Regions from separate parts of the Homo sapiens genome. Here region 2 is linked to region 1. Evidence: promoter capture Hi-C in 16 types of primary human blood cells and fetal thymus (Javierre and others, 2016). All regions are on one chromosome and are shown on one strand. Each heading gives the region's core, a stretch centred on a gene start or on the middle of the fragment in contact. The rest is flanking DNA. Distances are from core to core; before and after follow the strand shown. Region 1 holds the start of REST (RE1 silencing transcription factor). Region 2 overlaps DANCR (differentiation antagonizing non-protein coding RNA).

The links. The method cuts DNA at HindIII sites, captures the fragments that hold promoters and counts their contacts. A CHiCAGO score of 5 or more calls a contact.
Region 2: a contact is called between a fragment that was not itself captured here and the fragment with the promoter of REST in region 1, in 1 of 17 cell types (activated CD4 T cells). The highest score is 5.1, in activated CD4 T cells.

What each region holds. Positions count from the first base shown.
Region 1 is chr4:56,904,319-56,911,323 of GRCh38, reverse strand. It overlaps REST (RE1 silencing transcription factor), which reads right to left and starts at 3,424. Exons shown (of 4, transcript NM_005612.5): 1 at 3,111-3,424; 2 at 1-694. The coding sequence starts at 685. RefSeq lists enhancers at 1,178-2,107, 3,038-3,967 and silencers at 2,198-3,047, 3,158-3,547, 3,647-3,941. The HindIII fragment of the contact is 2,443 bases long and covers 1,437-3,879 here.
Region 2 is chr4:52,720,016-52,727,020 of GRCh38, reverse strand. DANCR (differentiation antagonizing non-protein coding RNA) reads right to left here. Exons shown (of 5, transcript NR_145129.1): 5 at 6,324-7,005. Among named protein-coding and RNA genes, the nearest start is that of SNORA26, 10 kb to the right of the region's middle. RefSeq lists an enhancer at 4,199-4,498 and silencers at 4,659-4,708, 4,889-5,028. The HindIII fragment of the contact is 6,089 bases long and covers 840-6,928 here.

The DNA of each region.
Region 1 (7,005 bases), core at 2,175-4,674:
CATATCGATTAGTATTGTAGCCGCAGCGGTCACAGCGAATGGGGCCCTTGGAGAAATCTCCCTCTTCTGCAGTGGAAGAGCCAGATTCCCTGGCTTTTGCCTGCTTCTCTGCACTCTCTTCCACAAAAAATTTCTTAGCACTGTGAACTCTGATGTGATGCACAAACTGTTCTTCAGATTCTGCTTCATATTGGCATGGCTTACAGCGAAAGGGTTTGGTCTTCGAGCTCTTGCCTTTGTCCTCCGCTCCAGGTGTTTCAGGGGGAAGATCTTTATTTGAACTGTAAATATCTGGAGCACCTGATGCCTCAAATACAGGCTGAGGTTCTACGACGCTGAGTTCCAAACTTCTCAGTTCCATGTTTTCCAGTCCATGAGGTTCACCTTTTATATCAGCAGACTCTTCAAGTCCTTCTCCTTCTTCACTATCTGAAAAGTTGTTATCCCCAACCGGCATCAGTTCTGCCATCTGTCTTTCTTCACCGACCAGGTAATCACAGCAGCTGCCATTTACTTCCCCAGTTAAGGCCACATTTGCCAGCATAATAAGCTGAGGTGCGGCCAGTTCAGCTTTGGAAAGGTCATGCAAGTCATACATGTCGTTAGGCAGGGCCATTCCAATGTTGCCACTGCTGGTAAACAGCCCTCCTCCTCCAGAAGACTGCCCCATTACCTGGGTGGCCATAACTGTATTCTGAATTAAAAACAAAACAAAACAAGAGCACCAGTTTAAACACTACTGTTACTGGCTTAAAACCACATCGCTGTAATTCTTCATAACTTAAAAATTTTCCAGTATGATCTTTATAACTCAGTAAACTTCATCGCCTATTAAAAACAAATCTTTAAAATAGTTGTTAATTCCCAATAGTCTACTGCAATCACCAAAAAAAAATTTCTACTATCCCTATAAAACAATTCTACCAATTGTTTGCACAACTCATTCATCATTCAGCCACTGGCATGTGGTGCCTCCTCAAGCACTTTTAATTGTTCTGGTGGGGATAAAAAGTAACCTTCATTTTTACTGTTAAAATTATTTTAAAAATTCAAAACATGAGTAGTAAATTATTGTCCTCCCAACTTTTCCCCCCTTCAACAGTTCAATGGTCTGAATCAGAAAGCCCAGAAATCCACAAGCCATTCAGTGCATTTATTAAGTACACAAACACATCTGGAAAGTACAAGCCTGTAATAATTGTTCAACTTAATTGGATTTCGCATGAACTCAACTAACTCCAAAAGAATAAACTACTGTGAAAAAGTAGCAGTCAGCCCCTTAATTTTTCGACAACTCCACAGGCTTAAAAGAAAAAACATTTATGGACCCCTTTTCTTGTGAAAAAGGAAGTTTGATTTATTCAAAACTTCACAAATAAAAATTAATAAGCTTATTTTTCTGCAGGCTGAAGTTCCACAACACTGAATTCCAAGCTTTTCAATACGAATAAAATCATCGTGCAACTCAACTCGACAATCAGCAACTTTCTTGCATTGTGCTTGACTTGGCCTACTTGCCTAGTGGAAGCCATTACAAGATCACCTTCTTCAAAACAAGTTGGGCTTTCTAGATGCTACGTTACTTCTCAATCTAAAAGGTGCCATTCTCAAACGAAGTGTTCACTCGCAAATTAAAAAAAGTAAGAAGTTCTAAGAAAATAAAGTTAAACCGAAAATACAAAAAGTAACCCGCTTCACCCAAGTGTATAAACACAAACCGGTTTAGTTCTACGTACCAACAAAAGTTGGAAGCAAATGCCATCACAGAAAACAGAGGGCGAAGGCTGTCCCGGGGCTGAACAGCCCAAGCTATTGGGTAATTTGGCCCAACATCGACTTTTCTAATTGCTCCCTAACCCCTAACTGCCACCCCAAATGGAATTTTAACGATTGTTAGGAAGACCGTCCAGGCACAGCCCGAAAGCCCAACGTGCTGCACGAATTCCTCCGTGCTGCTGCCACCAGCGCCTGCCTCGGCGGCGGCATTCCTAACTGAAATAGGCATTCGGCCATTTTCTCAAAATACCAAACACAAAGCAGCTCTTTGCAAACTCGGGCGCTCTCGCTTCCTCTCGCCTCGGCCCGCTCACTGCACACATTTACACACCAACTCGCGGGAGTCGCCCCGACACTCGTCCTGAGCCTTTTCCTGCGCTCTCCAACACTAAAACGGGGGAGGGGATCAAGCTCGAGGCGCTGTTTGGCCGGAACCAGTCCTCCCCGAGTCCAGGCAGCCCCCTCCCCAGCCCTAGGGCCCCCGTCCCGGGAGAGGACGGAAAGTTACCGCGCAGCCGGCGTCCGGGCTTCTCCGACCGCCCCCGGGCCCCTCCGACCGCCCCGGGGCTCGCCCAACGCCCAGGGCCGGGGAGGCTCCGCGGGCGCCCTCGCGAGGCGTCGGGCTCCGAGCGCCGGAGGGGGCCCCCACACGGGCCAGCCGCCACCCCCGCGCCCCGGAAGTTTGCGAACTTCACTCCCCCACGGCGCCCGGCAGGACGCGCGCCCCAGCCCCGCCAGCTCCAGCGGTCGGGTGGCCGGACGCGGGGGCCAGCGGCGCCGGACGGCTGAAGCGCAGAAATCGCTGTCCAGCCCCGCAGGCGGAACCGCCCGGGCCCCGGGGCTGACTCAACCCGCCCGGCCGCACTCAACGGCGCCTTCCGGCGACAGGGAGAGGCCCTGGGGGAGGGGGCCAGGAGGGCCGCGGGCCGGCGCGGGGCTGCGGTGGGACCCGGGGGCAGGAGGAGGAAGCAGAGGAAGTTTCAGGACTACGGGCCCGAGCAGCTCCGCTCCTTGGCCTCAAAGGACCTGACTCGGTGGAGCGTCCGGGCCAGCGCGGAGGCGGCGTCCCAGCCTCCAGTGGGGAGGGGGTCCAGGCGACGCGCTGCTCCCAACAAACGCCCCCAGCCCCCGGGCGGCTGCTGTGTAACCCGATCCTGCTCGGCCGCCAGCCCCCGCCCGGCGGGGCCGCCGCCGCCGGAGCCACAGTATCTGCAAATCAGCCCTGGACAGCGCCTGACTCCGCGTCCTTCCGCGCCCTCCCCGTCCCGCCACTGCCGCCGCCCGGGCGGCCCTCCCCCACCCTGACCGAGCCCCCAGCCCAGCGCCCCACTTACCGGCCTTCCTCGGTGAGGAGGGGCGGGCGACCCTGAGTCGCCGCTCCTTCTCCGACTACTTTTCTTTGTTGCTGGAGTTTCGGGGGAGAGGTGGGGGAGGGTGGTAAAGTTGGGTGCTGGGGCCGTCGTGGACCAAGAAGGCCCAGGAGTGGGGCTGCAGAGGGTGCTCAGGCCTCCGGGCCTCGCCCTGCCGTCTCGGCTGCGGCAGCCGCCGCCAGGGTCTGGGGCCCCGGGCCTCGGCGGCGCTCGCTCCGCTGCTGCGCCGCGAGCTCGCGGCAGCCGCACATTCCAACACAGGACGCTGCGCCGCGCACCCAGTCCGCGCCGCCGCCGCCGCCACCGCCCGCGGGACACGCCCCCTCCGACGCCCGCGCGCGCCCGCGAGACACGCCCCCTCCGACGCCCGCGCGCGTGGCCGCTAGGCGCGCCCCGCCCCTCTACCAAGCAAGGAGTGCCCCAGTCTCCAGCTCGCCTGGGGGCGCGTCTAGGGGGAGCCGCCCGTAATCCTCCCGGCCCCTCACTCCTGCCCTTAGGTCAGAAAAGAGGCGGGCCCCACTCCCTTTCTCGATTTCTATTACAAACAAACAACAAAAGTTCCCCCCAGCCCTGGCGTGCATGCATGAGAATAGAGCTGTTAAAAGAAGAATCCGCAGGCTTTGACGGGTCTCTTTAGAGCTATTGTCACCGGCCTCTCAAGTCTAAAGCGCTCCAAGATACCCTTCAGATCTCTTCAAGTCTCCACCCATAGCTGTCCTTGACTAATTAAGCTTCGTTTTAAGCGTCTGCGGTAAAAAAAAAAAAAAAAAAAAAAAGTCTTCCAAATTTCAAACTACCGGAGGGGGAATGCAGTCAGTTTGGGAGAAGTGAGAAGAAAACGTTTCAGGAAGGAGGTTATGGACTCAGAAAGCGTGAGCGTGAGGACTGAGGGGACAGATCCCTAGACGTGGCAGGTAGCAGGTCATTGCTGAGCCCGGAAAGCACGACTGCAGGGGAGGAATTACCCTCAGATGACAGAAGAAAAGGTGGTGAGGACGGGGAGGCTGCCTGGGGCCACGGTGTGTCGGAGTAACCGGGCTCACGTCTATGAAGCGGGATAACCAAGCGGAATGCCTAGCCCATAGTCATGTGCTAACAAAAACAAAAACAACAAAAAAGAACAGAGAGAGAGTAATTCCACCCCCTTTCACACCTGAAAGAGCTTCTCAGTCTGCCTTTGATACCTTCCTAAACGTCAGTCGTAAGTCACACCTGTCCTCAGAAGCATAGTGGCTCCCCATGACTACAAGCTTAAAGCTTAAACCCCTTAGTGTGGCGTTCAAGCCCCTACTTAACTTGACCTAGATAAGTCTGACTATTGCTTGGTATTACAACATAAGTAGCAAGTGCTATGGGGGTTTGCCAGTAGGAAGATGGATCCCAAGAGGTTCTAGAAACTTTTCACAGTAGATGTATTCAGTCTGACCTTGGAGAATGAGGAAAACTTCAACAGGTGGAAAGTAGGGCAAGGAACACTCTACACAGTGAAAAGGGCAAGCTCAAAATCCCAAAGCAGTTGTTAAGACATCCCAGCTTCTCCTCAGGGTACCTCACTTCCTTCTCTTTGAAGTTCCTTTATTTGTTTCTCTTAGGGCAGGGCTTCCAGACTCTTCATTTCCTGGTATACCCACGTAGGACCTCTGTTTCCCTCTATCTGGACAATATATTACTAATTAATGCAGTCTCCGATGCAAGATGAAATGAAGACCCTAAGGTGCTCGACCACCAAAAGTTTCAATGAGGCAATTTCAAATGTAACACCTCTCCATGAATCAAACCTGAAAAGTATTCATTTTCATTGAACCAAAGAGACAGGAAGGAAGGGAGGGAGGGAGGGAGGAAAGGAAGATCGACATTTTTAGGACTGGTACAAACTTTTCTATATATATTTTATTTGTTTAACTAAAATCAAGTTTGAGGTCACATGGCTTTTTTAGATGCTGTAGCCCAGGGTACAATTCAGGCCTCTACCAAGGTTGTCAAAGACATAAACTTGTTTTCTTTCCCTTTTTTAGGTCCAAAAAGGCAAAAATGAAATGTCTCTTGTTAAACTTACTAAATGTCCTTCATTTCCTCAATCTGACTGCTTACTGGAAATGTCTTATTAATTGCAAATTTATTCCCACATATTGTGATGCAAATAGAAGAATGGCGAATGGGCAGCTGCATTCATTTAAAATTAGCAGAGGCCCTTGTTCAAGGGATGGCATATTCAGAGTGACCCAAATTATCATGACATGAAGGCCACAGGTCAAATTCATAGGCCAAATTACAAATCAATTGAAAATTTTCTTGAGGGAAGCTGTTGCTATGAACTTGAATTCCTAACTGTTTTTCAAAAGTCTGTATTTTACTTTGCTGTATCCAAACTTTAGGATCTTCTGCAAGATAAAAACTCTGAAATGAGAATGAGTTCTGCTTTTCTTATATGGTTTTTTTCCTGCATATTTAACTCATCAATTTTTTTATTTTAATTATCATATGTTCTTAATAGTATTTTCTCTAGAGAGATTTCTTTCTTTTTTTTTTTTTTTTTTTTTTTGAGACAGAATTTGGCTCTTTTTGCCCAGGCTGGAGTGCAATAGCACGATCTCGGCTCACCGCAACCTCCGCCTCCCGGGTTCAAGCAATTCTCCTGCCTCAGCCTCCCGAGTAGCTGGGATTACAGGCATGTGCCACCACGCCAAGCTAATTTTGTATTTTTAGTTAGAGACGGGGGTTTCTCCATGTTGGTCAGGCTGGTCTCGAACTCCCAACCTCAGGTGATCCGCCTGCCTCGGCTTCCCAAAGTTCTGGGATTACAGGCGTGAGCCACCACACCTGGCCAATTATATATATATATATATATTATTTTTTTTTTTGACATGGAGTCTTGCTCTGTCACCCAGGCTGGAATGCAAAGGTGCGATCTCGGCTCACTGCAACCTCCACCTCCCGGGTTCAAGTGATTCTCCTGCCTCAGCCTCCCGAGTAGCTAGGATTACAGGCACGTGCCACCTTGTCTGGCTAATTTTTGTATTTTTAGTAGAGATGGTGTTTCACCATGTTGGCCAGGCTGGTCTTGAACTCTTGACCTCAGATGATCCACCTGCCTGGGCCTCCCAAAGTGCTAGGATTACAGGTGTGAGCCACCCCGCCTGGGAGTCTTGCTCTGTCGCCCAGGCTAGAATGCAGTGGCAAGATCTTGGCTCACTGGAACCTCTGCCTCCTGGGTTCAAGCAATTCTCCTGCCTCAGCCTCCCGAGTAGCTGAGATTACAGGCACCCGCTAGGACGCCCAGCTAATTTTTGTATTTTAGTAGAGATGGGGTTTCACTATGTTGGTCAGGCTAGTCTCGAACTCCTGACCTGAGGTGATCCACCCGCCTCGGCCTCCCAAAGTGCTGGGATTACCTGTGTAAGCCACCGAGTCCAGCCAGCATCATCTACTCTTGCTGCCGGTTGGACTCTGACCTCTTGTTCTGGTTCTGATAACTGGAATAGTGTCTTACTCATTATAGGCATCAACAGCTTGAGCCAGGGAGGTTTTCCCTTCATGCTGAGAAGGGAAGGAGGTGAACAAGAGAACTTGAGACTTGAGCTGGGCTCCTTCCTGCCTTCTTTTGGAGCCTAGATCACATTTGGAACCCGCTCCCATTTTCGTCCAATCCTAATGCCCTTCCCTGCTGTTTCTGCTCCCATTTTCGTCCAATCCTAATGCCCTTCCCTGCTGTTTCTGTCTCTAACATTTATTACTAACATGCTAGGTATTTTTATTTATTTACCCTACTTAGGAACTTAAGCTCCAGAAAGGCAGAGACATTTTTTTATCCCCAGCACCTATAACTCGTTAGTTGCTCAACAAATATTAGTTAGATGAA
Region 2 (7,005 bases), core at 2,635-5,134, 4.2 Mb after region 1:
GCCAGATCTGACTCAGACCCCTGATTGCAAGTCTGAAGGCAAGCTCTCTCAAATACAGCTAGTGACAGCCCAGGGCTTTCCTGGAGCAGTAAGAGAATTAAGTGTGACCTTGGATGAGAGCAGGTAACGAACTACAAGTAATGGTAATTCAGCAGGAATCTTTTCCTATGATTTGGGGCTACTATTTTTTGGTGTCTGATCAAAGAAAATGTTTCCCAACTCACTAAGCTCTCCTGCACCTGACATAGTATTTGTATTGCAAAAAGTGCAAGGTTAAAAGAATTGGTGTCGTAACTATAGGAGGCTGTGTTCTGAGTTTTTGAAAAAAGGTTTTACATATATATTTTTGAAGAGCAGCCCGGCATGCAGCTATGAAATGAAGCATCTGGTATTGCCTTCTACATGCTTTCTAGAACAGTGTTATCCAGCAGAACTTTCTGCCAGGATAGAAATGTTCTATATCTGTGCTGTCCAATACAGTAGCCAATAGCCAGGTGGCTATTTAAATTTAAATTTAATTACATTGAAAATTCGGTTCACTGATACACTATTAAGGCTTACGATAAAGCTAAGTAATGAAGTCAGTTTGGCATTGTTGTAAAGGTAGAAAAACCAACTGATAGAACAAAACAGAGTCAGGAGACAGGACCACACATACGTGGTCACTTGACTTACGACAATTGCAAGTGGGAAAATGGATTTTTTGAATAAACATGCTGGATCAATTAGCTATCCACATAGAAACAACAGGCATCTGGACCTACCTCTATGTCCCTATTCACAACAATCAATTCCAAATGGATTGCAGATCTAAATGAGCAAACTAAAACATTAAAGCTTTTGGGGGGCCAGGCGTGGTGGTTCATGCCTGTAATCCCAGCACTTTGGGAGGCTGGGGCAGGTGGATCACAAGATCAGAAGATGGAGACCATCCTGGTCAACATGGTGAAACCATGTTTCTACTAACATACAAAAATTAGCTGGGCATAGTGGTGTGCACCTGTAGTCCCAGCTACTTGGGAGGCTGAGGCAGGGGAATTGCTTGAACCCAGGAGGAGGAGATTGTAGTGAGCCGAGATTGCGCCACTGCACTCCAGCCTGGTGACAGAGAGAGACTCCGTCTCAAAAAAAAAAAAAAAAAAAAAAAAAAAAAAAAAAAAAAAACAGGAGGAAACTTTATAACCTGGAGTAGGCAGAGATTTCTTAAATAAAACCAAAAAACACTAAATGTTAAAACTAATGAATTGAATATTTCAAAATTAAAGTTTTCTTCAAAAGATACCATTAAAAGAATGAAAAGTAACCAAATGGGGGAAAATATTTGTGACATATATACTTGACAAAGGATGAATATTTAGAATTCTAAAAACAAAAACATAATACTGTATACTTAAAAAATTGCTAAGAGGATATATCTTACATTGTGTTATTTTAAATTTATTTTATTTTTTTCAAATTTTATTTTAGACTCAGGGGTACATGTACAGGCTTGTTACCTGGGTATATTGCGCGATGCTGAGGTTTGGGGTACAAATGATCCCTTCAGCCAGGTACTGAGCATCGTACCCAACAGTTTTTCCAACTTTTCTCCCTCTCTTTCCCTCCCCCCATGTTAAGGGTTATTATCAATAATAATAATAAAGAGGTCAGGAGAAAACTTTTGGAGGTGATGGATTAGGTTCATGGCATAGATTGTGCTGATGGTTTTAAGGGTGTACACTTATCTCCAAACTTATGAAGTTGTGTACATTGAATATGTATAGCTTTTTAGCATGCCAATCATACTTCAATAAAGTCATTTTTAAAAATCTTCTTACAATGGATAAACAAGCTGTGATATATTCATCCAATGGAATAGTACTCAGAAATAAGGAGGAATAAGTTATTGACACATGCAACAATATGAATAAATCTCAAACACAGCATGCTGAGTGCAAGAAGCCTTATACAGAAGAACATACTGTATGATTCCAGTTATATGGTCTTCTGAAACAGGCAAATCTAATCTACAGTGAGGAAAAAAATTAGAACATTGGTTGTCCCTGGGAAAGTGGAAATGGTAGGGAGCATGAAGGACTTTCCGGGGTGATAGTATGTTCTATACTTGATAGAAGTTTGGGTTATACAAATGAATGCATTTGTCAAAACTCAGCAAATATATACACTAAAGATTTGTGCATTTCATTTCATGTAAATTTTACATCAAAAGAAACCTGAAGTATTAAATTCTAGTTAATGATATACATGCTGAAATATTAATATTTAAATGGCCAAATATGTATTGCTGTTTGCAATTTACTTTGAAATGCAACAACATTAAGATAGATACAGGTAAATGTAGAAATATCCTAAAGTGAGTGTTATATAATGTTAATGGTAGAATAATCTATGTGGTAAGTTTACAGACGCTATTGTAAAACTCTTTAAACTTTGCTAAATATTTGAAATTTTTCATAATCAAATGTTAGGAAAATACAAATTTAAAAGACACTAAAAATGGGCACAGATTTTAACAGACACTTCATGAAGTTATTTCTTAATAGCCAATAAAGAGATGAAAAGGTGCTCAACTTCATTAATCATCAGGGAGCTGCAAATCAAAATCACCTGAAGCACAATTATCACCCACCAAAATGGCTAAAATGAAAAAAGATGGAAAATACCAAGTGTTGATGAGAATGTGGAACAACTGGAATACTCATATGTTGCTGATAAGTGTAAATTGGCTCAAACACTTTGAAAAACTGTTTTAAAATATTTAATATCTACTAAATTTGAACATGGTATATAACCTATGATCCAATAATTCCATTTGTAGGTATACACCGAACAGAAATGCAATCATCTTTTATCATGTTCATCAGAAGACGTTTATTACAATGTTCATAGCAGCAATATTTTTAATAGTTCCAAAATGTAGACTACTCCAATGCCTATCAACAATTGGTTGAATACATAAATTGTGGTATATTCACAAAATGGACTGCACTGCAGCATTCTCATGAGCAAACTGTGACTATACTCAAAATATGGATGAACCTCATGACCATCATAGTGAGTTAAAGAAACCAGACACAAAAAATCACATGTATATAATGCACAAACACAAGGATACTGCTCTATGCTGTTAGAAGTCAGGCTAGCGGTTACCTTTGGGTGAAAAGGAGTGGTTAGCTACCGGAAGGAAATACTTCTGGTGTACTGTTTCTTTCTTTCTTTCCTTTCTTTCCCTTCTTTTCTTTCCTTTCTTTCTCTTCGTTTCTTTCCCCTCCCTCCGTCCCTCCCTCCCTCCCTCCCTTCCTTCCTTCCTTCCCTCCCTTTCTTCCTTCCCTTTCTCTCTCTCTTTCTTTCTATTTCTTTTTTTCTTTTTTTTAATGTAGTATAGCTCTGTCACCCAGGCTGGAGTGCAGTGGCATGATCTCGCTCACTGCAACCTCCACCTCCCGGGTTCAAGCGATTCCCCTGCCTCAGCCTCCGGAGTAGCTAGGATTACAGACGTGTGCCACCACACCCAGCTAATTTTTGTATTTTTAGTAGAGACAGGGTTTCACCATGTAGGCCAGGCTGGTCTCAAACTCCTGACCTCAAGCGATCTGCCCACCTCGGCCTCCCAAAGTGCTGGGATTACAGGCATGAACCACCACGCCCCGCCATGTTCTGTTTCTTAAATTAGTTGTTGGTGGCAGGACTGTGATTAGTTTGTGAAATTTCAGCCGAATGTGCATTTTTGTGTACTCATCTGTGGTCATGTTATATTTCAATAAAAAGCAGTCTCTGCCAGAACCTACAGGCAATGAGGTGCCACAGAAGGAGTTGACATTTGAGAGGCTTGAGAAGGGTTTAAGAGACACAATCAGATTTGCATTAGGAAGATTAATCTTTGGCTTTGGAGGATGACCGGGAAAGGAGTTGGGAGCTATTTGTAGAACTAATCCAGGCAAGCAATTATGAAGGTCTGAATTAGAGCAAGGGAATAGGAATGAGGACAGGATACAGCTGATATTTAGGAAGTAAACATGACAGGACGTGAGCCGATCACTAAATCCTCCTGCTCATGTTTCCTTGCTTGAAAAATAAGGAATAACAGTACCTACTTCATTGGGACTAGTTTGATGATTTAATGAGGGGGAGTGGTTTTAGATTTATAAAATATATATATGCTTATTGTATACCATACCTAGACATAAGGTATTAATATTAGAAAGCTCTAAGAGAAATATCTTGATTTTGGCATTGTCCCTGCGACGCTGCCTTCTCCCTGCCTAGGATGGATCAGCGTGGGACACAGGGTAGAAGGCAGAGGTACAGAATACCACAGGACATGTCAGAACGTGGGCGTGAAACGGGCCCAAGGGACCACGGGTGAAGGTCTAGGACTCTTCCAGCAGCCTGAGCGCCAGCAGAAGGAACCAAAACTAACCCAGGCGTTTCCTCTCCTCCTCCCCAGCCTTTCGGCCGAGAAGCAGACCGGCGGAACGCGACGGGGATTCAGGCCTAGGGGTGGGCTTGAGGCCGGAAAAATGGCCAATGGAACGAGAGCTTCTCCGTGCTTAGCCAATTGCATGACCCCCCCCCCAGGACCGCCCCCATCCGGTGATTGGCAGACACGTCTCCCAGTGTTGTCGCGGCCTGCTAAGGCTCTCAGAACTCCCGCGAGGGTGCGGGTCTTCCTCCAGCGCTGGGCTACTTGGTCCCGCCCCTCAAGGTATTTCTGCTCCTTGTGTGCCAGGGACCCCGGTAGTCCTGCTCCTGCTCTGGACCTGGAGCCAGGAGGTGGCTGGGAGGTGGGCGCGGTGAGGAGGTCTGAGCAGCCGCAGGCTCTGGGCCGCTTCGCCTCGAATCCGGGACCCGCGGGACCCGCAGGACCCGTAGTGCCTGGGGCCGAGGTGGGCGCGGCCCGGGCTCTCATGCTTTCCCTCACGCGCACCTGCCTTTTCCGCGGGGCCCGGGGCGGCTCCCCTGCCAGTTGGCGGGAGTAACCCGTAGTAGTAAAGCGCGACTGGATTAGGCCCTGTGTATTGAAGGGTTTGCGATCTTGAAAGGAACATTTGCATTAAAAACAGTGGGCAAACTTGTTTGTGGTCCTGTTGGTAACACACTTTTAGGGGGTGCAGTACAGTATGTTACCATACTTGGGGGATTAGCCGCCGTAGTTAAATGGTGGGTTCCTGTTGTTCCCAGCCCATTTCTAGCTAATTTAAAGAGAGTTTAAATAGGATAAGGTCCCGTTTACATCTTCCAGTGCCTAATACAAATATTTTAAGCAGCCCTATCAGCCTCCCCAAAAGGTAAAGGAGATTCCCCCAGTAAAGGCACATGACACTATGTATTGAATTCTTTTTTTTTTTTTTAAGACGGTGTCGCTCTGTCGCCCAGGCTGGAGTGCAGTGGCGCGATCTCGGCTCACTGCAACCTCTACCTCCCGAGTTCAAGCGATCATCCCACCTCAGCCTCCCAAGTAGCTGGGATTACAGGCGCCAGCCACCACGCCCGGCTAATTTTTGTATATTTTGTAGAGACGGGGTTTCACCATGTTGGCCAGGCTGGTCTTGAACTCCTGACCTCAGGTGATCCGCCGGAATCGGCCTCCCAAAGTGCTGGGATTACAGGTGTGAGCTACCACGCCCGGCCTGTATTGATTTCTTGAATTTAGCAAACACCACAAAATTATCTTAAAGTAGCCTGTACTTAATACCATAAGAAAGACCAGCCTGAGTCTGTTTTCCCTGAAAGCAAAGCACTGAAAAAATCGTGCAATCGGGAAGAGAATACAAAATACTGTAGATACCTGAGTCTTCAGTGTACAGCCAAGTGGCAATATACATGTTATTAGGATGTATTTTTAAGTCTTAGGTTCTTTCGGGGTGGGACAGTGCCGACTAATAATTAAAGTATTTCATATATCATTTTCCTATTAATTGGACAAGAAAAAGCTGATTTATTTTCGACCCTTTTGTAGGTGGGAAAATAGCAGGCTAAGATGATATAGCACTGAAATCTTTATCAGCTTCTCCAAAGATTATTTGTACTCATCTGTTGAAATATTTACCAATTTTTCTTTGTGTAGTTTGTGAAATTGCTGGAATAGGTTATGTTTCAGCTGGCTACAACAGAGCTTTTAAGGTTGCCAACTAACTTTCTTAGATGTGAATAGAGTTATTCTTTTGTTGACCTAAAAATTGTTGACTGTTAGAGCAAAGAATTCATATTAAATTTTGTGTAAAGTTAAATATGTCAGTGAGACACCTGAAATAGACTATTTTGGTATATTGCATTTGAACCTCCCTATCAATAGCAATCAAAAAACCATAATTCCAATCTGGCTATTTCTGAATATACAGCCAAGACAAGTGGCAATTAGAACTGTTAAAAGTAGTTTCTGGCTGGGTCCAGTGGCTCACCCCTGTAATCCCAGAACTTTGGGAGGCTGAGGCAGGAGGATCACTTGAGCCCGTGAGTTCAAGACAGGCCTGGGCAACATAGGGAGACCCCCCCACCTCTATAAAAAACAACAATAACAAAATTAGCCAGGTCTGGTGGTACACACCTGTGGTCCCACCTACTCAGGAGGCTGAGGTGGGAGGATCGCTTGAGCCTAGGGTACCAAGGCCGCAGTGAACTATGATTGTTCCACTATACTCCATCCAGCCTGGGTGACAGAGGAAGACCCTGTCACAAAAGAGAAACAAAAAAAAAAAGTAGTTTCCGGTGATGACATATCAAGAGCAAGAATTTTTGACTGGCACAAAAGGTTTAAAGAAGGTAAGGATGATACCCATGGTGATGTGCAAAGCGGTCATCCAGTCACCCACAGAATCCAATTAAATGCTGAGAGCCAGAAATTCGGTTTTCTCAAATAGCCAATTAACTATGAGAAAAATAGCAGAAAAGTTTCATTCTGTAAGAAAACTTGCAGCTGATGAAAGCTTCTAGGAAGATTTTTATCTCCTGCTATTGTGGCTGAAGATCTCATGGAGGCCAAACCAAAATAGGGCTAAGCAGGAG